Regions from separate parts of the Homo sapiens genome. Here all the other regions are linked to region 3. Evidence: promoter capture Hi-C in 16 types of primary human blood cells and fetal thymus (Javierre and others, 2016). All regions are on one chromosome and are shown on one strand. The core of a region is centred on a gene start or on the middle of the fragment in contact, and the rest is flanking DNA. Distances in the headings are between cores, read along the strand shown.

What was found. Contacts are between HindIII fragments. The CHiCAGO score rates a contact against its expected background, and 5 or more counts as called.
Region 1: a contact is called between a fragment that was not itself captured here and the fragment with the promoter of DYNLRB1 in region 3, in 1 of 17 cell types (megakaryocytes). The highest score is 5.3, in megakaryocytes.
Region 2: a fragment that was not itself captured here is called in contact with the fragment with the promoter of DYNLRB1 in region 3 in 1 of 17 cell types (neutrophils); the score reaches 6.0 in neutrophils.

Annotation. Positions count from the first base shown.
Region 1 is chr20:34,749,939-34,753,586 of GRCh38, reverse strand. NCOA6 (nuclear receptor coactivator 6) reads left to right here. Exons shown (of 15, transcript NM_014071.5): 9 at 3,068-3,648. Among named protein-coding and RNA genes, the nearest start is that of TP53INP2, 47 kb to the right of the region's middle. The HindIII fragment of the contact is 5,391 bases long and covers 1-3,648 here.
Region 2 is chr20:34,721,265-34,725,078 of GRCh38, reverse strand. The region is part of intron 14 of NCOA6 (nuclear receptor coactivator 6); the gene reads left to right. Among named protein-coding and RNA genes, the nearest start is that of TP53INP2, 19 kb to the right of the region's middle. The HindIII fragment of the contact is 4,180 bases long and covers 1-3,705 here.
Region 3 is chr20:34,514,913-34,518,902 of GRCh38, reverse strand. It overlaps DYNLRB1 (dynein light chain roadblock-type 1), which reads right to left and starts at 2,481. Exons shown (of 4, transcript NM_014183.4): 1 at 2,442-2,481. The coding sequence starts at 2,444. RefSeq lists enhancers at 1,950-2,129, 1,796-2,661, 3,050-3,289, 3,400-3,459 and a silencer at 2,480-2,589. The HindIII fragment of the contact is 8,760 bases long and covers 1,919-3,990 here.

The DNA of each region.
Region 1 (3,648 bases), core at 879-3,378, 240 kb before region 3:
CCAGGTTCAAGCAATTCTCTGCCTCAGCCTCCTGAGTAGCTGGGATTACAGGTGCCCGCCACCATGCCTGGCTAATTTTTGTATTTTTAGTAGAGACGGGATTTGACCATGTTGGCCAGGCTGGTCTTTGAACTCCTGACCTCATGATCCACCTGCCTTGGCCTCCCAAAGTGCTGGGATTACAGGCATGAGCCACTGTACCCAGCAAATTCATGTTTTTTTATAGGAAGTTTTAAAACAGGCCAGGTGCGGTGGCTCACGCCTGTAATCCCAGCACTTTGAGAGGCCGAGGCAGGTGGATCACTTGAGATCATGAGTTTGAGACCATCCTGACCAACGTGGTAAAACCCTGTCTCTACTAAAAATACAAAAAACTAGCCGGGTGTGGTGGCGGACGCTTGTAATCCCAGCTACTTAAGAGGCTGAGGCGGGAGGATCACTTGAACCTGGGAGGCAGAGGTTGTTGCAGTGAGCTGAGATCACGCCACTGCACTCCAGCCTGGGCGACAGAGAGAGACTTCATCTCAAAAAAAAAAAAGTATGTTTTAAAACAATGACAAAGTCATTTCTCATTCTTGTACCCTATCACAGCTATTTTGTGTTTTTATATGGTACCTTCCACATGTACATGTTTTTTGTTTGTTTTCTTTGTGTGTGTTTTTTTTTTTTTTTGAGATGGAGTTTTTGCTCTTGTGCCCAAGCTGGAGTGCAGTGGCGCAGTCTCGGCTCACTGCGGCCTCTGCCTCCCAGGTTCAAGCGTTTTTCTGTTTCAGCTTCCCAAGTAGCTGGGATTACATGCCCTGCTATTTTTTTAATTTTTAGTAGAGATGGGGTGTCACCATGTTGGCCAGGCTGGTCTCGAACTCCTGACCTCAGGTGATCCACCCACCTTGGCCTTCTAAAGTGGTGGGATTACAGGCCTGAGCCACTGTGCCCGGCCCACGTGTACATGTTTTGGTTTCCCCATTTATCCTATCTAAAGTAGCTCTACTCTTATCTCTTACTTTCTCTTCTCTCACCCTACTTTCTCTTGTTAGCTTTTACTGCTTCCTGAAAAAATACTTGTCTGTTTGTTAGTTGTGTCTCTTGCCAGTTAGACTGTAGGCTCCAAGGATGCAGGGATTTGGTCTGTCTTGTTTATTGATGTTACCTCAGCACCAAAGTGCCTTCTATGTATCAGGTACTTAATGAATAATTGTCAGTTGAATGAATATACACAGTATATTTATTGTATACAAGCATATACAATGGTCATGGAGTTCCACTTTGAGTTTATAAGGCTGGTTTAGAAAATCTTCCTTAGAGTTCAGGAGAAGTCTGGATAGTGTGAACAAGGTAGTTTGCCCCCTGCCTTCATAGTTGGAGCATGGACTGGCTTCATAACTTCATTGTAGGGGATTTTCTAGTCCCCATTTAAAAGTGAAAAATAAGGCCAAGTGCGGTGGCTCAGCCTGTAATCCCAGCACTTTGGGAGGCCAAGGCGGGTGGATCACCTGAGGTCAGCAGTTCGAGACCAGCCTGACCAACATGCTGAAACCCTGTCTCTACTGAAAATACAAAAATTAGCCGGGTGTGTTGTTGTGCGCTTCTAGTTTCAGCTACTGGGGAGGCTGAGGCATGAAAATCACTTGAACCCAGGAGGTGGAGGTTGCAATGAGCCGAGGTTGCACCAGAGCCAGATTCTGTCTCAAAAACAAAACAACAAAAAAAGTGAAAAATAAAAGGGACAAAATTAACTACAAAGTTATTCAGTTAAACGGGGAGATAATGCAAGTAGCTATAGGAAAATCCCAAAGACCCAGTAAATAAATAAGCACTACAGCAAGGCGGGTAGCAACTTTTGTCTAAGTTAGAAATAGCTGAGAAGACTAAAACATGTGCCACATGATTCACCAGGGACTGCGCAGGAGAGGGTCACTGAGGTTTTATTATTCCTCTATTTGCAGCTTCCAGATGGGTCATCTAGTCAGTTGGCTCCCACCAGAGGCTCAGCTTCCAGATCAAGATTAACTGCTTTTTACCACATCAGGGCAGAGGACACCTGTCCTTGGTGTTATTTTCTTTGAAGTGCAGCATCCACATATCACACACATAGCTTTTGAGAGTCATTATTATTACAGTTTTCCAAGAAGCATTTTTAAATGTCTTCTCATGATTGTTGAGGTTTTCCTAAGAGGACACTTCACATTCTTTTTTTTTTTTTTTTTTTTGAGACGGAGTCTTGCTCTGTCGCCCAGGCTGGACTGCGGACTGCAGTGGCGCAATCTCGGCTCACTGCAAGCTCCGCTTCCCGGGTTCACGCCATTCTCCTGCCTCAGCCTCCCGAGTAGCTGGGACTACAGGCGCCTGCCACCGCGCCCGGCTAATTTTTTGTATTTTTAGTAGAGACGGGGTTTCACCTTGTTAGCCAGGATGGTCTCGATCTCCTGACCTCGTGATCCACCCGCCTCGGCCTCCCAAAGTGCTGGGATTACAGGCGTGAGCCACCGCGCCCGGCCGACACTTCACATTCTTATAGCAGAGTTATTTCAGTAGCCCATAGTGCTTTTTGAATTTAATTTAATTTAATTTTTTGAGACGGGGTTTCACTCTGTCACCAGGCTGGAGTGCAATGGCATGATCTTGGCTCACTTCAACCTCCACCTCCCAGGCTCAAGCAATCCGCCTGCCTCAGCCTCCCAAAGTGCTGGGATTACAGGCATGAACCACCCGAGCCTGGCCACTACAAGTCATTTTAAAACAGTGAGATGCTGCCTTTCTCATTATTTAATCTGAAAGAAAGTAAACTTTCTTGATCTTTGAAACGTTAAATCTTTAAGATACCATATGGGAATGTAGAAACTGTTTCTCCTTCTCTATTATATGGTCATTGGGAATGTAAGCAGTTATCCCACAGCCACATCTTTGTAGTTTAGAAAACTCACAGGAAGTATGTCAACAGCATATTTATGTTGGTCAGTGGATATAAGGGTGATGGATGTCTTTCTGAGTAATGTAACTTGAGTATCTTAATACCAATAAGATAAAAATATTTATTTCTGAAACTGTGACTTTTTTTTTTTTTAAGGTGGTCAAGGAGCTGGTCCTCCTCAAAACCAGATGCAGGTGTCCCACGGGCCGCCAAATATGATGCAGCCCAGCCTCATGGGAATTCATGGCAACATGAACAATCAGCAGGCTGGTACTTCTGGGGTTCCTCAAGTGAACCTCAGCAACATGCAAGGCCAGCCCCAGCAGGGCCCACCATCTCAGCTGATGGGCATGCACCAGCAAATCGTGCCCTCCCAGGGCCAGATGGTCCAGCAACAAGGAACCTTGAACCCTCAGAACCCTATGATCCTTTCAAGGGCCCAGCTTATGCCACAGGGCCAGATGATGGTGAACCCCCCGAGCCAAAATCTTGGGCCCTCGCCCCAAAGGATGACCCCACCCAAGCAGATGCTTTCCCAGCAGGGCCCACAAATGATGGCGCCACATAACCAGATGATGGGGCCTCAGGGGCAGGTTTTGCTCCAACAGAACCCAATGATAGAGCAGATTATGACCAATCAAATGCAGGGGAATAAGCAGCAGTTTAACACTCAGAACCAGTCCAATGTCATGCCGGGACCAGCCCAGATAATGAGGGGACCAACTCCAAACATGCAA
Region 2 (3,814 bases), core at 366-2,865, 210 kb before region 3:
AGTGGCTCACGCCTGTAATCCCAGCACTTTGGGAGGCCGAGGCAGGTAAATCACCTGAGGTCAGGAGTTCGAGACCAGCCTGACCAACATGGTGAAACCCCCTCTCTACTTAAAATACAAAAATTAGCTGGGTGTGGTGGTGGGCGCCTGTAATCCCAGCTATTCAGGAGACTGAGGCAGGAGAATTGCTTGAATCCAGGAGGCGGAGGTTGCAGTGAGCCAAGATCGCGTCATTGTGTTCCAGCCTGGGCAACAGAGTGAGACTCCATCTCAAAAAAAAAAAAAAAGTCTCTGTCTTTACCACATTGAAAGACGAATTCTAATACTCTGTGTTAAATGTTAAATGCTATGATAGCAAAATTACATGGCACTATAAGAGCATATAGCTGAGATACCTTGCTCTTCTGCCAGGTCAGAGAAGGCTTTCTAGAAAAAAATGACATGACATTTAAGCTGAGACCTGAAGAATGAGGAGGCAGTGACCAGATCATTCTCTTAGGAAATGTGCTGAGCTTGAGTAGTTCAGTTTGGGTAAGGTAAGAGCTGGGATCCTGGCTGAGTTCCTGATTATCAGCAGGACTGCTGAGAAACGGTCAAGTATCATTGGGATGCCAGCCTAAAGACCAGGCAGATTCTGGTGCACCCACACTAGACACTAGACACGGATCTGAGGACTCAGCTGCTGTTGGCAGGTTATGTCTCTAGGCAAGAATGTCACGATGCCTCACAAGAGCCTCTGGGAATAGGCCAGAGGTCATATACAGTTAAAATTGAGGTGTACAAAGTACCATCACCATACTCAGCCTGCTGGAGAGTTAAGGGGCAAAGGTGAGAGAGGCCTTCTTTCTTTTCCAGGAATAGTGTATACACCACAGTCAGGGTCTCTTAGGTATCCTCATTTTAGGTGGAGATATGAAGCCAATAACTTCATTCCTCCTCTCTGGGAATCATCTCTAGGCAGAAACTAGTTTGGAAGGGAGTACACTTTTCAGTATATTGAAGTACTACACTTAAAGCATAAAAGGGAACATGCCTAGAGTTCTATGGGAAAATCTGCTTCCCCTCAGTTCTGCATGTTCTTGTAGCCTTTCACTTTCCCAAAAGAGTAAGATCTTCTAGGCTATAGAATATGGTATGTAATTACCTTTAAAGCGGGGAAAAGGTATTGGCCTTTAGAGATGTCACACACCAGATTTTTGGAACCTTGACCTCAGCCCAGAGCCTCAAGGTACTAAAGGGTTATTTACAGGGCACCAGAAAGAATCTAAGAAGCAACTGGGACAGTTAAGAAGAGATGCTCAAACTAGAACCGCTCTGTAGAGAACTACCAGCCAAGAAGAGATGGAAAGCTAGAACCTGTTTTTAAGGGGTGTTGGGGATGGGGAATAAGCCTGTACACTTAAACTGAACATTGTCCCACCGTGGCAGTGGTGATGTTGGAAAGCCTGGCACATCCTTGCTCTGAGGCTTAGCAGTTGGCTTAGAAGAGGCCATAATGACTCTCAGGCTTTGTGATCTTGCATGGAGGGGTGCTAAGTGTCTCCCTAAAGAATGGCATAGCTCTGGCCTGTCCCTGGAATCACAGTCATGTATAGATATCCGCATCAGTCGCAAGACCTCAGGCCATCATTCTCTAACTGTCTCTGGTTAAGTTACTGTGTATGAGTAGAAAAACAGACTCAGTTTCTCCTGCTATACTCTCACAACACGCTTCTGACACAAGATGTAAGGTGTTTTTTTCCCCACACATCAAGCAAGTCATCAGTTCTGCCTCAGACACCAGCTGGGTGTCCTCCAATTCAATTCTGACACTATCTGCCTGGAGATAGTATCAGATCCACAGGTTTGAGGGCTCAGTCCCACAAGACTGCTGCCCACTTCCAATGCCAGGTGCAAGCCCCAGGTTGTTTTACCTGTGCTTCTGACTAGCTGGCTAAAAATTGGAGTTTCCATGAACCCCTCGTAACCAGGTCCAGTTAATTTGCTAGAGTGGCTCATAGAACTCAGGGAAACATGTTTACCAGTTTATTATACAGCTTTTTCTTTCGTTTTTTCTTGCTTTGTTTTGTTTTGTGACAAAGTCTCACTCTGTCGCCCAGGCCAGAGTGCAGTGGCACAATCTCGGCTCACTGCAACCTCCACCTCCCAGGTTCAAGCAATTCTTATGCCTCAACATCCCAGGTTGCTGGCATTACAGAGGCTTGCACCACCATTCCTGGCTAATTTGTGTGTGTGGGTGTGTGTGTATTTTTTTTAGTAGAGATGGGGTTTCACCATGTTGGCCAGGCTGGTCTCGAAGTCCTGACCTCAAGTGATTCACTTGCCTCGGCCTCCCAAAGTGCTGGAATTACTGGTGTGAGCCACTGTGCTTGGCATTTTTTTTTTTTTTTTTTTCATTTGAGACAGGTTCTTACTGTGTCACCCAGGCTAGAGTACAGTGGCATGATCATGGCTCACTGTAACCTTGAACTCCTGAGTTTAAATGATCCTTCTGCCTCAGCTTCCCAAGTAGCTGGAACTACAGGTGTGCATCACCATGCCTGGCTAATTTTTTAATTTTTTTGTAGAGATGGGGTCTCCCTGTGTGCCCAGGCTGATCTTGAGCTCCTAGCCTCAAGTGATCCTCCCACATTGGCCTCCCATATGAAAGTTTTTTTTTAATTTTTACTTTTATTTTATTTATTTATTTATTTATTTTTAGACGGAGTCTCACTCCATCGCCCAGGCTGGAGTGCAATGGTGTGATCTTGGCTCGTTGCAACCTCCGCCTCCCAGGTTCAAGCAATTCTTGTGCCTCAGCCTCCCAAGTAGCTGGGATTACAGGCGCGTACCACCACACCCAGCTAATTTTTATATTTTTAGTAGAGATAGGGTTTCACCATGTTGGCCAGGCTGGTCTCGAACTCCTAACCTCAAATGATCCACCTGCCTCGGCCTCCCAAAGTGCTGGGATTACAGGCATGAGCCACCATGCCCAGCCGGCTTTTTCTTTTGCTTTTTTTTTTTTTTTTTTTTTTTTTTTTTGAGACAGGGTCTCACTGTGTCACCCAGGCTAGAGTGCAATGGCACTATCATCACTCACTGCAGCCTCAAACTCTTGGGCTCAAGCAAGCCTCCTGCCTTAGCCTCCTGAGTAATTGAGACTGCAGGCACATATGACCATGGCTAGCTAAATTCTTTATTTTTTGTAGAAACAGGACTCACCATGTTGCCCAGGCTGGTCTAGAACTCCTGGGCTCAAGTGATCCTCCCACCTTCGCCTCCCAAAGTGCTGGGATTACAGGCGTGAGCCACTATGCCCTGATATTTTAAAGCAGTGGTCCCCAATCCCCGGGCCATGGACTGGTTGGTAGTGGTCTGTGGCCTGTTAGGAACTGGGCCGCACAGCAGGAGGTGAGTGGTGGGCAAGCGAGCATTACTGCCTGAGCTCCATCTCCTGTCAAATCAGAGGTGACATTAGATTCTCATAGGAGTGTGAACCCTACTGTAAACTGTGCATGCGAGAGATCTAGGTTGTGTAGTCCTTATAAGAATCTAACTAATGCCTGATAATCTGAGGTGGAACAGTTTCATCCTGAAACTGTCTCCCCCGCAACCCCCAGTCCATGCCAAAAAGGTTGGGGACCACTTTTAAAGGATAGAAATGAACAGCCAGATGAAGAGATACATAGGGCAAGGTCTGGATGGATCCCAAGTGTAGAAGCTTCCATCCCTGTGGAGTTGGTGCACCACCCTCTTAGCAGGTAGATGTGTTCTCGTTCACCTTCTGGGAAGCCCCTGAATTCAGTCCTTTTGTGGGTTTTGCGGGTTGTTT
Region 3 (3,990 bases), core at 1,232-3,731:
AAAAAAAAAAGTTAAACTAGGCATCTAAATTTGCATTGCTTTTATGAGTATAACCACGGAGTAGCATAATACAGGTTCTAGAAAGCTACAGTTTAAGTAAGAAAAAGGGGGGCCATATAAGTGCTTGTATAGATGCATAAGAAACTAACAGCTGGGTGTGGTGGCTCACGCCTGTAATCCTAACACTTTGGGAGGCCAACGTGGGTGAATCACTTGAGCCCAGGAGTTCAAGACCAGCCTGGGCAACATGGCAAAACCCCAACTCTACAAAAAAAAAATACAAAAAAATTAGCAGGGTGTGGTGGCGTGCACCAGTAGTCCCAGATACTTGGGGAATTAAGGCAGGAGGATCACTTGAGCCCAGGAGGGTCAAGTTTGCAAGAAAAAAAAAAAAAGAAACTAACAATGGTTGTTTCTAAAGGAGGAGAGACTGAGACTGGGGGTTAGGAGAGTGGGAATTTTATTTTTCACTTAGATCCTTTTACATCATTTATTTTTTTACTGTGTGCAAGTATTACCTGTAAACAATCCTAAAATTCGTATGGAACCACAAAAGACTCAGAAAAGCCAAAAGAAGCCTGGACGAAAAGAACAAAGCTTGAGGTATCACACTACCTGATTTCAAAATATACCAGAAAGGTATAGTAACCAAAAGAGCATGGTATTGGTATAAAACACAGACCAATGGAATAGAATAGAGGACCCAGAAATAAATCCACTTATTTACGGCCAACTGATTTTCGACAAAGGCATCGAAAAAACAAAACAAAACAAAAACAACAACAAAAACGAAAAAAAAAACCTACCATAAATCAGCAATACCACTACTGGGTATTTATTCAAAGGAACGGAAATTAGTACATCAAAGGCATCCCTACATCCTCATGTTCATATTGCAGCACTATTCATAATAGCTAAATTATGGAATTAGCGTCCATCAATAGGTAAATGGATAAAGAAAATGTGGGCCAGGCGTGGTGGCTCACGCCTGTAATCCCAGCACTTTGGGAGGCTGAGGCGAGCAGATCACGAGGTCAGGAGATCGAGACCACCGTGTTGAGGCGGACTAACACGGTGAAACCCCGTCTCTACTAAAAATACAAAAAATTAGCTGGGCGTGGTGGTGGGCGCCTGTAGTCCCAGCTACTCGGGAGGCTGAGGCGGGAGAATCACTTGAACCTGGGAGGCGGAGGTGGCAGTGAACTAAGATGGTGCCACTGCACTCCAGCCTGAGCGACAGAGACACACTCCATCTCAAAAAAAAAAAAAAAAAAAGAAATAATGAATGTTTAAGGTGATGGATATTCTATAATAAATATAGCCTGATTTGATCATTACACATCATATGCATGTATCAAAATATTACATGTATATCTACAACATAAATGTGTACAACTATTATATATCAATTTTTTTTACAGCTTAAGAAGTGATGTGAAAAATGAAGTTATACATATTTGAAGCATTATTACATGTTTGTAATGATGTGGAGATATTGTGGTGTAATAATGAAAAACACAGAACCCACAATTGCACATTCAATAGGGGCTAAACTGTATAAACCAAAAACAAGCAAAAAAGACTAGAAGTCATATGACTACTGTAAGTGGTTGCCTCTAGGTGATGACACGGTTTCTTTTTTCAATTTTTTTATTACAAGCTCTAGATTTCTAAATAAGATTTTTGAAAAAGTAATATATTCACATGGCTTAAAATTTGAAACTTTTTCAAATTTTGCCCAAGCTGTGAGGATTACAAACACAAAACCTGTAACGGCGTTGAGAACCCACAGCTGCAGCAAGCAAGGTAGAAAGCAAGCTTTGGGATCCCCAAGAGCAGACCCCGCCCGTTCCTGACTCTGGCACCCAGTCCCAGCGGCTAGAAAGAACCACGCCGACAGAGTGGCGGCCGTCAAGCTTCTAGGGTTCAAATCCATCTCCACTATTTCCTGGGGCAAAGCACTTGGCTTCTCGGGGCGCTGAATAACAGATATGTATAACAAAATGGGACTAAAGATTGTATCTACCTCACAGAGCTGGGAGGAGGCGGAGGAAATACAAGATACATAAAGTGCTTGGCAGAGCCTGCCACAAACTGAGCTCCCGGGAAACGTTGCCAGGGTTGCCATCGCGCACCAAGGCCCCAAAACTCTAGGCTGCAGGGCCGCCGCCCACCCCTCGCCCATCATCTCTTCCTGGCCGAGGCTGGGCTCCCGCTTCCGGTCAAGGGGCAGCGGGATCCGGCGGCCCCGCCTCGGTCAGGCTTTAGAGGCCTCCGCCGCCGGGTTCCACCCTCAAGTCGGCTGGGGCCCGGGCCCGGCCACGCCCAGCCACCACCGATTCCCTGTCCGGAGCTCTGAGATCCCCTCATCCTCGGAAGACTGAAGGCCTGGCGTGGGGTGGTGGGCGGCCGCCAGCCACAAGACCCCGGCGCACGCTCACCATTTCCGACCGATCCGGTAGCCCCGCGTAGCGAACACTTAGCGAGTCCTGTGCCTTTCTGCGCCTGCGCAAAGGTTTCTGTCAAAACGGACAGCTCTAGCTGCCTATCAGGAGCCAGCGTGAGGCGGGGGCGGGCGAGCCGATCTTGGCTCCGCCAGGATTCTTGGAAAATCTGCTTTCCACTGTGGCAAAGCGAAAAGCTAAGGAGCAGTGCGCTAAGCTGTGGAAAATTCCCAACTCCAGCCGTGCAGAAAAGATGCTGGTTCTGGCTGGACGCGGTGGCTTACGCCTGTAATTCCAGCACTTTGGGAGGCCGAGTCGGAAGGATTGCTTGAGCCCAAGAGTTCGAGACCAGCCTGGGCAACATGGAGAGACCCCTTCTCTACTAAAAAATAAACAAAATTAGCCGGGCGTGGTGGCGCGCTCGTGTAGTTCCAGTTACTCCAGAGGCTGAGGTAGGAGGATCGCCTGACCAGGAGTTCGAGGCTGCAGTGAGCCGAGATTGCGCCACTGCACCCCAGCCTGGGCGACAGAGCAAGAGACCCTGACTAAAACAAAACAAAACAAAAACCATGCTGGTTCTCGGTATCGGAAGAGGCTTTCAGTGCTGGTTCTCGGTATCGGAAGAGGCTTTCAGCTCTCAATGGAGGTCTAAGCTGGTTCTGGAGTCCCTGAGTGGAGCGTGGTGGGAGGGTATGAAGGCAAGTGGGACGGTTGCTGAGACCCGCTTTGCGCCCAGACTGAGCCAGAGAGAGGCCCAGGGCCAAAATGCGCTTCGGGATCGGGCAGGCCTGGGGTGGGGCTGGAGTCAGGTACCTCGAGTCTCCGGGTAAGATGCCGTGCAAGCTCGGAGATGAATTGGTTAGGGCTGGCCTGGGAGTCTTTAGAATCCGAGCTCAGCCCCGCCTCGCGTTACCTAGCAGAAGGCACTTCACATCTGTGTGTTCTGTCTTGTTCTCACCTCTGAAAGGGGGACTCTTCCCAGAGCCCTATGTTGTCCTGTTCCGGCAGGCCGCAAACGTTTCTGGGTCCTCTAGGAGTAAATAACTTCTGTTAAAACATGCTGCCGTTTAGTGAACCCTGTGCCACATTACTGTGCTGAACACGCACATAACGTTATCTCCGGTAGCTTCAGGGAAGTATCGGTAACCTCGATACTTTATAAATGCTGTTTCTCCCAGGCACTGTAGCTTGCTGGATTCAACGATGATCTAACTCCAAAGTTTCATTCCACAGTAGCTGCTCTTCAGTGAGGAAGGATTTGGTTCTCCTTCCAGGAGTGTCTGCATGTTAAGAGGATTGACTTTACTGCGAAGAAACCTAGCAGACACCACCGTAACCAGATCAAAGTTAGTATTACTGGCAAGGGGAGATATTGATGCCGTGTGCCCCGATAAAAATGCGTTAAGGGCACATCACCTCCGAGTCATTTTCCACAAAAACTCCCAGCCTTAAACCATGAGAAAATTTCACTAAATCCAGTGTGAGGGATGTTCTACAAGATACCTGTACCCCGCCCCCGCCCCCCAAAATCTCAAAGTCATGAAAG